Linked DNA regions of Homo sapiens: region 1 is linked to region 2. Evidence: promoter capture Hi-C in human tissues and cell types (Jung and others, 2019). All regions are on one chromosome and are shown on one strand. Each heading gives the region's core, a stretch centred on a gene start or on the middle of the fragment in contact. The rest is flanking DNA. Distances are from core to core; before and after follow the strand shown. Region 1 holds the start of TIMM44 (translocase of inner mitochondrial membrane 44). Region 2 holds the start of FBN3 (fibrillin 3).

Evidence for each region. The method cuts DNA at HindIII sites, captures the fragments that hold promoters and counts their contacts. A contact is called where the count stands out against the background at its distance.
Region 1: the fragment with the promoter of TIMM44 here is called in contact with the fragment with the promoter of FBN3 in region 2 in 1 of the 25 tissues and cell types used here (lymphoblastoid cells).

Annotation. Positions count from the first base shown.
Region 1 is chr19:7,941,674-7,948,077 of GRCh38, forward strand. TIMM44 (translocase of inner mitochondrial membrane 44) reads right to left here and starts at 1,993. Exons shown (of 13, transcript NM_006351.4): 1 at 1,934-1,993. The coding sequence starts at 1,978. RefSeq lists enhancers at 1,014-1,557, 1,558-2,100, 1,727-2,096, 2,101-2,644, 2,645-3,187 and a silencer at 2,127-2,196. The HindIII fragment of the contact is 7,251 bases long and covers 989-6,404 here.
Region 2 is chr19:8,145,241-8,151,634 of GRCh38, forward strand. FBN3 (fibrillin 3) reads right to left here and starts at 4,352. Exons shown (of 64, transcript NM_032447.5): 1 at 4,209-4,352; 2 at 2,074-2,257; 3 at 1,864-1,946; 4 at 887-985; 5 at 603-698. The coding sequence starts at 2,240. RefSeq lists enhancers at 1,567-2,538, 2,539-3,509. The HindIII fragment of the contact is 21,800 bases long and covers 3,249-6,394 here.

The DNA.
Region 1 (6,404 bases), core at 743-3,242, 210 kb before region 2:
TGGAAAGAGAAAATGCTGTGTCTGTACCTCCAGGGCCTACATCTATCCTCGTGCCCCTGAAACTGGGGGAAAACGGACAGGTCCCAGGAAATGCCAACCCATGGGGGGAAGAAGGCTAAATGTACAATTTAATCCCTTAGTCTGAAAGTAGGCACTCTAAGCTTCTATGCTAGTGGCAAGCAGTCTTCTCTTGCGAGCCCACCCCATTTCTGCCAGCCTCCAAAGATGAGAGAACTGGATTTTTCAGACACAAACATCGATAATGTGTTGCCCCAGGGACAACTCTGGAATAAACCTACAATGTCCTCCTCAAGGGTTGAGCTATAAACAGAGTAATTTAGGGGAGTCGCTCTGGGCAAAGACTGGGCTGATCTCATGTAAAAGGCACTTGCTGGCTGGGCGCGGTGGCTCACGCCAGTAATCCCAACACGTTGGGAGGCTGAGGTGGGAGGATCACCCGGTCAGGAGTTCGAGATCAGCCTGGCCAACATGGTGAAATCCCGTCTCTACCAAAAATACAAAAATTAGCCGGGCGTGGTGGCACACACCTGTAGTCCCACACACCTGTAGTATTGCTTAAACCCGGGAGGTGGAGGGTGCAGTGAGCCGAGATCTTGCCTTAAGTTCTGTGCAGGCACTGAGCTGGTGGCTCATGCCTGTAATCCCGATACTTTGGGAGGCTGAGGCGGAAGGATCGTTTGAGCTCAGGAGTTTGAGACCAGCCTGGGCAACATAGCTAGACCCTGCCTCCATAAAAAATTGGGGGAAAAAAAAAAAGCTCTGTGCAGGTCCTGTTCAGCTCGGCACCCTGTCACCCAGCACAGAACCTGGCGTGTTGATGTCAAAAGACCAGGTACAACTTCTCCACCATTTCCACATTTCCTGGGCCGTTTTTCTCTCTGTTCTCTGCCTCCTACCTCTGAGAACCCTATGCAACATCCCAAACTTACACAGGTGCCTACTATCTCCTGTATTTACTTGAGGATAACTTTTTTTTTTTTTTTTGAGACGGAGTCTCCCTCTGTTGCCCAGGCTGGAGTAAAGTGGCAGGATCTCGGCTCACTGCAATCTCCGCCTGCCGGGTTCAAGTGATTCTCCTGCCTCAGCCTCCCAAGTAGTTGGGATTACAGGAGCGCGCCACCATGCCCGGCTAATTTTTTTGTATTTTTAGTACAGATGGGGTTTTAGTAGAGATGGGATTTCACCATGTGGGCCAGTGGATCTCGAACTCCTGACCTCAGGTGATCCACCTGAGGCTGAGGCAGGAGAATCGCTTGAACCCGGAGGCAGAAGGAGGCAGAAGTTGCAGTGAGCCGAGATCGCGCCATTGCACTCCAGACTGGGCGACAAGAGCGAAACTCTGTCTCAAAAAAAAAAAAAAAAGAGAAAAAAGAAAAAACGAAGAGCACGAGCAATATGAAGTACTACTTTCTGAGTGCGCCTTACACGTCTTGACTGCCACTGCCCTGTGGACCCAAGAGCCTGCTAGGGCGCGAACCACCTCTCGCACATCCACAATGAACGTTAGAAGAAACGAGACAAGAAATGCTCTCGGTAGAGAACTTGGCATTTAACCGCGAGCTGTGAATTTCACGTTTTTTTGCCTTCCCCTCTACTTTTTTCCACGGGACGCCGCCGCCCCGGCTACCATTCTCTCTCCTGTATACGTGGAGTCTGATCAGAGGGCGAAGGGTGATCAGCTCCCTCCCAGGTCCCGCGCATCGCCGCCCCCTGCCCGGTAAGCTCGGTCCCCGCCCTCAGGCCACGCTCTGTGCCCCCTGTCCTGGCCTCTGCTACCCAAAGATCTAACCCCAAGCTTTCTAAGGAGCCCAAGCAAGGGTCGCGAAGGCCAAGGGTCTGAGAAGAAAGCCTTGGTGGCCGAAGGCCCAGAAGACCCCTAAGCTCGCCCTGCCAGCGCCGCACCGCCGCTCACCCGTGGACAGCGGCACCAGCCACTCCGCAGGGCCGCCGCCGCCATGTTGGAGAATCGTGTGACCTTCTCGCGGCGCGGCCCGGTTGCGTCATCCGCCGCTTCGGCCTAGAGCCGCGCAAGCCTGAGAAAAGCCGCTCCAGGAGCGGGGTTTCGGGTAGGGAGAGCCCTCCGATTGGGTCCGTCATAGGGCGGGGCATTAAAAGGGTAGGGAATGCCTAGAGAGCTTGACCTCTGATAGGGCAGTGTTTTGGAAGGACGGGGCCCGTGACTGGATGTGGCCCGGGGGAGGGCACTCCTGGGAGGGTCAGATCTGTGATTGGGCGCGACTACGAGGGGGCGGAGCCCAGGGGCGTGTATTCCGTCACTTGCGGTGATTCGGCTACAGAACGCGCCGGGCGCTGGTGGCAGGTGGTACAGGCACGTGGATCCACCGACCACAAGGACGGATTCGATTGGATTCTGATTGACCGGCGGACCAGCTCCAGAGTAATTGTCTATGGCTGCCCCTGCAATGACTGATTGATTGACAATGGCTGAGAGACCAGCAAGTGAGTCGCTCCGAGAAAGCGAAGGAGCCCACTCTTGTGCGGCGCTTTGGGAAGACGCCTGTTGGTTTTGACCCCGAATAAGAAGAGGAAGCTGAGAGCGGGCTGACTGTGGTCCAGTCCTACTTCGATTCAGTGTGAACTGACACTCTGATCTGAAGACGCTCAGGCCTTTGTCATTTCAGCACCCCAGATGCTATTTTCCATTCGAAGAATGCCGCCACCAGGTGGCGGTATTTTAACATGGCCATGCAATCCGGGTATGAGGAGGAGGGTTGGTCCCCTGGGAGAGCTAATGTATGTTGCTGTTGCTGTTTGTCTTATTGGATCCTTTTTTTTTTTTATAGAGCCAGAGGCTTGCTCTGTCACCCAGGCTAGAGTGCAGTGTCGTAATCTAGCTCACTGCAGCCTCCAATTCCCAAGCTCAAGCGATCCTCCTGCCTCAGCCTCTGAGTCACTGGGATTACAGGCGTGAGCTACCGCACCCGGTCTTTTTGCATTACTAACCTGTGATATGGGTTTATGGGACTTCATTATTTCAAAGGGAGGCAGCTTGGCCCCGGAGAGCATGCATTCCTGGCTTCTGCGATGGATAGACTTGTGTTCTCCATCTCAGGAGCTCCCCCTCAAGGTGGGGGTAAGAGATGAGGGCTTCCACTCTGGCTTTGTTCGAGATGTCTTGATGCCAAGAGGAGCAAACTAGTTAAGCGGTTGGTGTACACAGGTGTGTTGCTAAGAATAAGGTCTGGGCTAGAAATATGGATTCTTAGTTGTGGTTGAAAGTACGGAGTTTGGCCGGGCGCGGTGGCTCATGCCTATAATCCCAGCACTTTGGGACACTGAGGCGGGAGGATCTCTCCAGCCCAAGAGTTTGAGACCAGCCTGGGCAACATAGTGAAGACCTCTTCTTTACAACAAATACAAAACATTAGCTTGGCGTGGTAGCATGTGCTTGTAGTCCCAGCTACTCAGGAGGCTGAGATGGGAGGATCGTTGAGGCCCGGGAAGTTAAGGCTGTAGTGAGCCGTGATCGTGCCACTACACTACACTACACTACACTACACTACCTGGGCAACAGAGAGAGACCTTGTGTCAAAAAAAAAGAAGAAGAAAGAAAGAGAGAGAGAGAAAGGAAAGAAAGAAAACTACAGCATTGGACACTCAGAGGCAGTGTGTCATATAAGCATGTCAAAGACCCAAAGATAAAGTGGAGATAGAAGACTCCTTTAAGCCAGGATCCGTGGCTCAGTCCTATTATCCCAGCAACTCAGGAGCCTGAGGCAGGAGCATCATTTGAGCCCAGGAGTTACAGACCAGTCTGGGCAACATAACGAGACCCTATCTCTACAAAAATAAAAAAATAAGCCAAGCATGGTGTCTCTCGCCTGGAATTCCAGCTACTTAGGAGGCTGAGGTGGGAGGATCTCTTGAGCCCATTAGTTAGAGGCTGCAGTGAGCTATGATCACCCACTGCACTCCACCCTGGGTGACAGCATGAGACCTCCATCTCTTTTTTTGTTGTTTTGAGACAGAGTCTCACTCTGTCGCCCAGGCTGGAGTGCAGTGGCACGATCTTGGCTCACTGCAAGCTCCGCCTCCCAGGTTCACACCATTCTCCTGCCTTAGCCTCCCGAGTAGCTGGGACTACATGTGCCTGCCACCACACCCAGCTAATTTTTTGTATTTTTAGTAGAGACAGGGTTTCACCATGTTAGCCAGGATGGACTCGATTTCCTGACCTCGTGATCCGCTTGCCTCGGCCTCCCAAAGTGCTGGGATTACAGGCGTGAGCCACCACACCCGGCCTTTTTTTTTTTGAGATGGAGTTTTACTCTTGTTGCGCAGGCTGGAGTGCAATGGCGCGATCTTGGCTCACCGCAGCCTCTGCTTCCCAGGTTCAAGTGATTCTCCTGCCTCAGCCTCCCAAGTAGCTGGGATTACAGGCATGTGCCACCACACCCAGCTAATTTTGTGTTCTTAGTAGAGACGGGGTTTCTCCATATTGGTCAGGCTGGTCTCGAACTCCTGAACCTCAGGTGATCCTCCCACCTCAGCCTCCCAAAATGCTGGGATTACAGGCATGAGCCACCATGCCCCCTCGAGACCTCCATCTCTAAAAAACAATTTTTTGTTGTTGTCGTTGTTTTGAGACTGAGTCTCAGTCTGTCACCCAGGCTGGAGTGCAGTGGCGTGATCTCGGCTCACTGCAAGCTCCACCTCCCAGGTTCATGGCATTCTCCTGCCTCAGCCTCCCGAGTAGCTGGGACTACAGGCGCCCGCCACCATACCCGGATAATTTTTGTATTTTTAGTAGAGACGGGGTTTCACCATCTTGGCCGTGCTAGTCTCGAGTCCTGACCTCGTGATCCACCTGCCTTGGCCTCCCAAATTGCTGGGATTACAGGCGTGTGCCACTGCGCTCAGCACTGTGGGAGGCCGAGATGGGCAAATCATGAGGTCAGGGGATCAAGACCATCCTGGCTAACATGGTGAACCCCCATCTCTACTAAAAATACAAAAAATTAGCCGGGCGTGGTGGCAAGTGCCTGTAGTCCCAACTACTTGGGAAGCTGAGGCAGGAGAATCGCTTGGACCCAAGAGGTGGAGGTTACAGTGAGCTGAGATCACACCACTGCACTCCAGCCTGGGCGACAGAGCAAGACTCCATCAAAAAAAAAAAAAAAAAGGAAGACAATCTGGAGGAACTTGGAGAAGGCAGATGGAAACAGCAGAGGCGAGTGCTGCACAGTTCAGGCAAGGCAAGGACAGAAATGTAGCCACCGCCATTGCATTTTGCAATATGGAGGTCATTGGTGAGATAAGCAAGAGGGGTTTTGGGTGAGTGGTGGGCCTGGGAGCCAGATTTCAGTGAGTGGAGATGGTTTTACAGAGGCATGCTGGGGCCAGCTTGCACTGACTCGCAAGAGCCAGCCGGCACATCTTCAAGAATTCAAAGCCTCTTGTTAAACATGGCCAATATGTAAACAATTAATTGTATAAACTTAAGATCAAATAGATTATATTAGAACAAAAGTAATAATGCAAAATTCATCACTTCCTAATTATGCTGCTACATGTTACTACTATCTGTGCTCTTGAGGGTTTTTGTTTTTGTTTTGAGACAGTCTCACTCTATCGCCCAGATAGGAGTGCAGTGGCACCAGCACGGCTCACTGTAGCCTCGACCTTCCAGGCTCAAGTGATCCTCCCACCTCAGCCTCCCGAGTAGCTGGGACTACAGACATGCACCATCACGCCCAGCTGATTTTTGTATTTTTTTGTAGAGACAGGGTCTCTCTACGTTGCACGGGCTGATCTCGAACTCCTGGGCTCAAGCGATCCTCCCACCTTGACCTCCCAAAGTGCTGGGATGACCAGCACAAGCCACAGAGCCTGGCTACTTTTTAAAATTTTTTGTAGAGACAGGCTGGGTGCAGTGGCTCACACCTATAATCCCAGCACTTTGGGAGGCCGAGGTGGGTGGATCACTTTAGGCCAGGAGTTTGAGACCAGCCCAGCCAATATGGTGAAACCCCGTCTCTATTAAAAATACAAAAATTAGCCAGATGTGGTGGTGCATGCCTGTAATCCCAGCTACTCAGAAGGGAGGCTGAGGCAGCAGAATTGCTTGAACCTGGGAGGCAGAGGTTGCAGTGAGCCAAGATTGCACCACTGCATTCTAGCCTGAGTGACACAGCGAGACTCTGTCTCAAATAAGTAAATAAATAATCTTTTTGTAGAGACAGAGTCTTGCTATGTTGCCTAGGCTGGTCTCAAACCCCTGGGCTCACTCGATCCTCCCACCTCGGCCTCCCAAAGTGCTGGGGTTACAGGCATGAGCCACTGCACCTGGCTTATCTTGGGGTTATTTACATATATGATGTCTGCGTGCTGGAAATACTATATTATGTGAGTCACTGCATTGT
Region 2 (6,394 bases), core at 3,102-5,601:
GCCGGCTCTTTTAATCCCAGCTACTCAGGAGGCTGACACAGAAGAATTGTTCAAACCTGGGAGGCGGAGGTTGCAGTGAGCTGAGATGGTGCCACTGCATTCCAGCCTGGGCAACAGAGCAAAACTCCATCTCAAAAAAAAAAAAAAAAAAAAAAAAGGGCCGGGCACGGTAGCTCACGCCTGTAATCCCAGCACTTTGGGAGGCTGAGGCGGGCGGATCACGAGGTCAGGAGATCAAGACCATCCTGGCTAACACAGTGAAACCCCATCTCTACTAAAAATACAAAAAAATTAGTCAGGCAAGGTGGCGGGCACCTGTAGTCCCAGCTACTCGGGAGGCTGAGGCAGGAGAATGGCGTGAACCTGGGAGGCGGAGCTTGCAGTAAGCCGAGATCTTGCCACTGCACTCCAGCCTGAGTGACACAGCGAGACTCTGTCTCAAAAAAAAAAAAAAAAAAAAGAGACTGTGGCAATAAACGTCCCCTGCAATCTCCAGTCCAGGAAGAAGGAACCCTGGGCAGTGGGCAGGTGGCAGCAGAGACTAATACTCTGGGATCACAGTCCCAGGTGTGCAAAGAGGGGAGTCCCATGGGGATACTCACGCTGCCCACACACGGTGCCTGTGTAGCCCTTCTGACACAGACAGGACGCCCCCCGGCAGGTGCCCCCATTCATACAGCTCACACTGCACCCTGACCCTGGGGACAGGAAGGCAGGACGCATAGTAATGTGGAGATGGGCCCCGAGATGCCCTCCTAGGAAGGCTGCAGGACTAGGCATGCTCAGCCCCGCTCCTGTCCTTCAACAAAAGCAGCCCAGGCTCCTCGTGGCAACCAGAACCCTGTGAACTTCTTCTCCCTCCCGCAAGAGGCCGCTTCCCGCTCACCTCGGCTCACCCCGCAGCTGGGAGCCAGCGTCCCATCCGCACAGGTGCACAGGTTGGGCTGGGAGCAGAAGCCTTCACCGCAGGCGCGCCTACAGATGGCTGGATGAGTGCAGCGGGTGGCAGTCAAGACCAGGACCGAGCCTGGGCCGTCCCTGCTCCATTGGTGTCCGGGCTGGCCGGAACACCTCAGTGGACGCTGCTGGTCATCTGCATCCCCGGCTCTGCTCATAGCACACCCCACCCCTGTTTTCATGGGATGTCCCCCCACTCTCGGGCTGGGCTGGGCAGGGTGTGTGACCCAGGCTGTGGGTTGGGGACTCTGCTAGAGCCATGGGGAGAGAATGCTCTTTGGGCCAGAGCTGCTGAGCTGTGAGGACAGAGCTGGAGGTGCTGGGGTCCTGGATACTGAGGTTGGGTGTCTCCTGGGAAGTGGAGTCAGATTCCAGAGACAGAAACAGAAAGAGAGGGTGAGGCCAGAGAGAGACAAACAGAGAGAGACTCAGAGAAACAGAGAGAGAGAGAATCAGTTAGATAGAGAGACAGTAACCAACAGAGAGAGGCCAGGTGCAGTGGCTCACACCTGGAATCCTAGCACTTTGGGAGGCTGAGATGGGAAAATCGCTTGAGGCCAGAGTTTGAGACCAGCCTGAGCAACACAGAGACCCCCATCTCTAAAAATAATAATAATAAAGAAAAGAAACCAACAGAGAGAGACATGAGCAGAGATGAATAGAGAGAGGCAGAGACAAAGCAAGGGAACCAGAGAGACAGACAGACACAAGGAGGTTGTAGGGCAAAGGAAATGAACATGGCAGGTTGGCCTGGAACCCTGAGGACAGACGCAGATGCAAGGGCCATTCCTGTGGTTCAGCCAGAGGTCCCTGGCTAAGTCCCCGTGTAAACAGAGCTGAACCTGCAGGCAGGTAAGAGTGTCCCCGGCCTGTGCCCCCCCACCTCCAGACGGCGGTAGCACTCACGTACGACACACTGGCTCCTGCCAGGGAATGTCCTCCAGCCTGGACAGCAGTAGGCATGGAACCGGGAGCCGCACACATTCGGCCTTCGGGGACAGCGAGATGGGTCTGGTGAGCCCCTGCCCGTGTGGACATCCCCCCGGGTATTCCGCTGGCCCCAGGACAGCCCAATCCACACCGAAGGGGTCTCCCAGCATCCCAGGTACCACGCACCCCTGCAAGATGCCTGGGCTGCCCCGCCTCCGCACACGTCCAGGACCTGCAGCCTCCAAGGCCCCGTCCCAGCGGCCTTGGCCACCTGCCATGCACAACAGGGCCGACCAGGCCAGCAGGAGCCGGGCCAGGGGGCCCCTTGCCAAATACAGACCCTCCAGAGTCATGGCGTGTCCCCTGGAGGCTGCGGAGAGGAAGCAGAGTCAGCCCTAGATGAGCCCCCCACCCTAGCCATGGGGGACCCAACACAACGAGGAGGGCAGGGTGGTTGCCAAATGGGGCAGCCCCGGGGCCTCTGGGAGCCCAAGGAGGCATCCAGCCCCAACCGGGAAGCGGTGAACAGTCAGAGGAGGCTTCCTGGAGGAGGTGTGATGTTAGAGAAGGGTCTTGGGGCTGAGGGTGCACAGCCAAGGCAAGACGGGAGTGGGAAGTGGAAGGGAGGGGAGAGAGGGCCAGGTGGGGCCAGGTGGGGCCAGGCGTTGCAGGAGTGGGCATAGCAGTGTCATGCAGCTTTTGCTCATTCGTCAAGGACAATGAAGAGCCCTTGAAAAGCTTTGAGTGGGAGGAGCAAGGTCAGAAATGCATGTTAGGTGGTGTGGGGAAGGGCAGCAGGGTCCCGGGGGGGAAACAGGGTGTCAGAAGGCTGGGGGCTGTCCAGATGGGAGAGAGAGGAGAGGAATGGGAGGCTCATGTCGTGGGAGGTGGAGGGCATTGAGGAGATTCCCAAAGTTCTAGCTGGGACGGTGGAGCCCAGAGAGCGTCCAGGGTAGGAGGAAGATGGTAAGTCGTGGAAGGCAACAACCCCACTGTCCCTCTGTGACACAGATACCCCCACTCCTGCAATGCCTGGCCCCACCTGGCCCTGTGTCCCCTCGCCTCCACATCCCACGCCGGTCTTGCCTGGGCTGTGCACCCTTAGCCGCAAGACCCTTTTCTAACATCACACCTCCTCCAGGAAGCCTCCTCTGACTGTTCACTGCTCCCAGGTCAGGGCTGGATGCCTCCCTGGGCAGGGGGCCCAGGCAGGGGCTGGAACTTCCCAATGCAGAGAGTAACCCTGTGCCCAGCAGGGAAGGGACCGCTTCTGTGCCCATTTCACAGATGCACAAACTAAGGCCATCACACCATGAGTGAGGGGCTAAGCCGGAGCTTAAGCCCACGAAGAGAAGAAGGAGGGGAAGAAGATCAGGAACGGAACTCGCTCCTGCCCCCCTTGGCTGGGTCTTTCCTGGGCCATGAAGGACGGGAGGGAGAAGACCGGGACAGGAGACGACCGTTTGGAGGGTGGAGGCAAAATACTTGAGGGAGAGAAGCCAGACCAAGTGGCCTTCCTGTTCCATTCAGGTTCCAGGGAGGAAAGGAACCGGCCCTAGGTGGAGAATGGGCGGGGAGCCCTGCTGTGTGGTCTTGGCCACGCCCCTCTCTGGGCCAACCTGGTTGTCCAAAGGCCCCGGAGAAGGGAGAGACCCCTGTCAACGTTGGAGGGTTGGCTGGCTGGAGAGGGGCGCCCTCTTTTTCTTCTCAGTTGTCCGGGTCAGTCCGCACTCTGAGGCTCCGTGGACTCCAAGCAGCCTCGGGGCTTGCAAGCCCTCCTCCCCCACTCCCTCCGCCCCAGCCCCCTGCCTCGGGTCGGGTGGGGGAATTAGGTGGGGGGAGTCTCTGGCCTGATTTGCCTCGGTCCCCCCTACACACCGCTGCTTCTGCGAGCCACACCCTGGAGTTTGTGGAATGAATGAGCAGAGAAGGCGCGCCCGGCACGGGGTGTGGAGGCTGAGGGCCAAACAGCGAGGGATACCAAGCTTCGCCGACGGGGAGGGGGCGCCCCCGGAGCCCGCGGGGCGCGATCTCCACCCGGCAGGGCCCCCGGCCGCGACCACGCTTGGCTCCGCCCTCACCTGTGGGGTCAGGGGCCCCGCGCCCCGGCCGAGCCCCTCCCGCCGGGTCCCCGCGCCCCCACTCCCCACTGCGGCGGGCGCCACTAGAAGGCGGAGAGGGGAGGGGGCTGGGCCCGGGGCTGCCCGGCTGCGAACAAAGGAATCCTCTCCCCCTCCCCCTGCCGGCCCCCCCGCCCCCGCCTTCTCCACCCTTCAGCGCCCGCGATCTCGCCCCGCCGCTGGCCCCGCGCCTTCACCTACCTGCGAGGCGGCGCGCGTGGAGGCGGGCACGGCAGGCGGACGCGCGGGACTCAGCGCTGCAGGGCGGGCTCCTGCGGCGCCGGGGACCCGGGGCGGGAACGCAAAGCCGAGAGGCCGACCCCGCCGCGTTCCCAGCCCAGAGCTGCCACTCGGGGGGGAGTTGGGGGCGGGAGGAGTTGGAGGAGGGCGCGTTTGCACCTCTTAGCTCCCGGGGCGGGGACGGGGGGCTCCGATCCGGGGCGGGGAGAGAGGCTGCGGCTCGGGGGAGGGTCCGGGGCTCCGAGTGAAAAACTCCGATGGACTGGAGGGATGTGAGGGCGGGCTGGGGGCGCCTAGTAGGGGCTGCCGGGGCCGCGTTTTCGGATCGAGACTAAGGTGGAGGTGGGGCTCTGACTTTTGGAGGGCCTGGACGACAGCCTGGGCAGAGAAGTCCCGGGACTCACCTGGGCGGCCCTCTCAGGGCCTCCCAAGCCGCCACCCCCTCCCTCGAGCAAGGAGAATTGCGAGAGTGACGTTGGAAACTCACCTGGCTCTTGGAGCCTGGATTCTTAACTAGGCTGAGATCAGGGGCCCCTAAATATGTTGACAAAACATTGGGCAAAGCTGTATTTCCCAGGGAGAAGGGCCCAGGTTTTTCATCTGGTTCTCAAAATGAAGAGGTTAACAATTCAAACGGTGTAAACTTTCAAATCTCTTTGAACCTGTTTGTCCACCTACCAAAGGGACCAGACAAGAATTTTGGCTCCCTATCTGTTGTCAGTACTCCAAACAAAAATTTCTAGGCTTTTCCACTACCTTCATACCTTTGAGAATAGACCCTTAACATGGGGATCTGTCAGAAGCTGTGCGTTGGGCCTGAAGCTGTTACTCCATCCAGCAAACTCCTACGCATCTGTCAAAGTCCAGTTCAAAAATTCCCTCCCTATCCGCAAATTGTGAGTTTACTCTATTGAACTCCCAAAGCTGATTGTGCTGAATATCCCCCCACCACAGTACTTCCGGAATCTAATAAATAAGTAAGCCCAGTGGGCTTGAAACCAGGAGTTCGAGACTAACCTGGGTAACATAGTGAGACCCCATCTCTAAAAAAAAAAAAAAAAAAAAAATTAAAAAGAATTAGCCAGGCCTGGTGGCATGCATCTATAGTCCCAGCTACTCAGGAGGCTGAGGCAGGAGGACTGCTTCAGCCTAGGAGGTTGAGGCTGCAGTGAGTTATGATTGTGCCACTGCACTCCAGCCTGGGCAACTGAGCAAGACCCTATCTCCAAAAATTGGAGACCCTGTCTCCATTCCGGAAGTGCTATGGTGGGAGTATATTCAGCAAGTCAGCTTTGGGAGTTCAATAGGGTAAACTCACAATTTGCAGGGAGGGAGAGGATTTTGTTTATGTTTTGTTTTGTTTGTTTTTTGAGACAAAGTCTTGCCCTGTCACCCAGGCTGGAGTGCAATGGCACGATCTTGGCTCACTACAACCTCCACCTCCCAGGTTCAAGCAATTCTCCTGCTTCAGCCTTCCGAGTAGCTGGGATTACGGGCTTGTGCCATCATGCCCGGTAAATTTTTTGTATCTTTAGTAGAGACGGGGATTCACCATGTTGGCCAGGCTGGTCTCGAACTCCTAACATCGTGATCCACCTGCCTCGGCCTCCCAAAGTGCTGAGATTACAGGCGTGAGCCACCGAGTCTGGCCCAGAAGGGGATTTTTGAAGTAGGTTTTGACAGTTGCATAGGAGTTTGCTGGAGGAAACAGAACAGGCAAAGGCCTGGAGAAGGAGAGAACTTAGAACAAACATGCCTGGATGGAGTGAGGTTGGAACTTTAGGAGAGAGGAGAAGGGGAGGGAGCAAGAGGAAAGCAGGAAACATAAGAAGAGGCTAGAAGCACCGAGGAGCCCTCAGCAGGCTCCCCCCCCACCTCTGAGGGGAGACACGGTGGACTCACAGAAAGGGGAGGTTCTCCCAAGGCTCCACTTCCAGGTCTTAGACTGTGTCCGGGGAGCATTGAGGGCCCCAGGGCTGGGCTCGGGGAGCATGGGACAGACGCCGACTTCAGGGACAAGATCCAGTCATCCTGGCCAAGGGAGGGGCCCGTGGACCCTGTGAGAAGGGTCAGGTGGGGTGCTGGGGCATGGGGAGGGTGGACTGGGGAGGGAACCCCAGGATGGAGGTGGCCCAGCAGAGACAGGG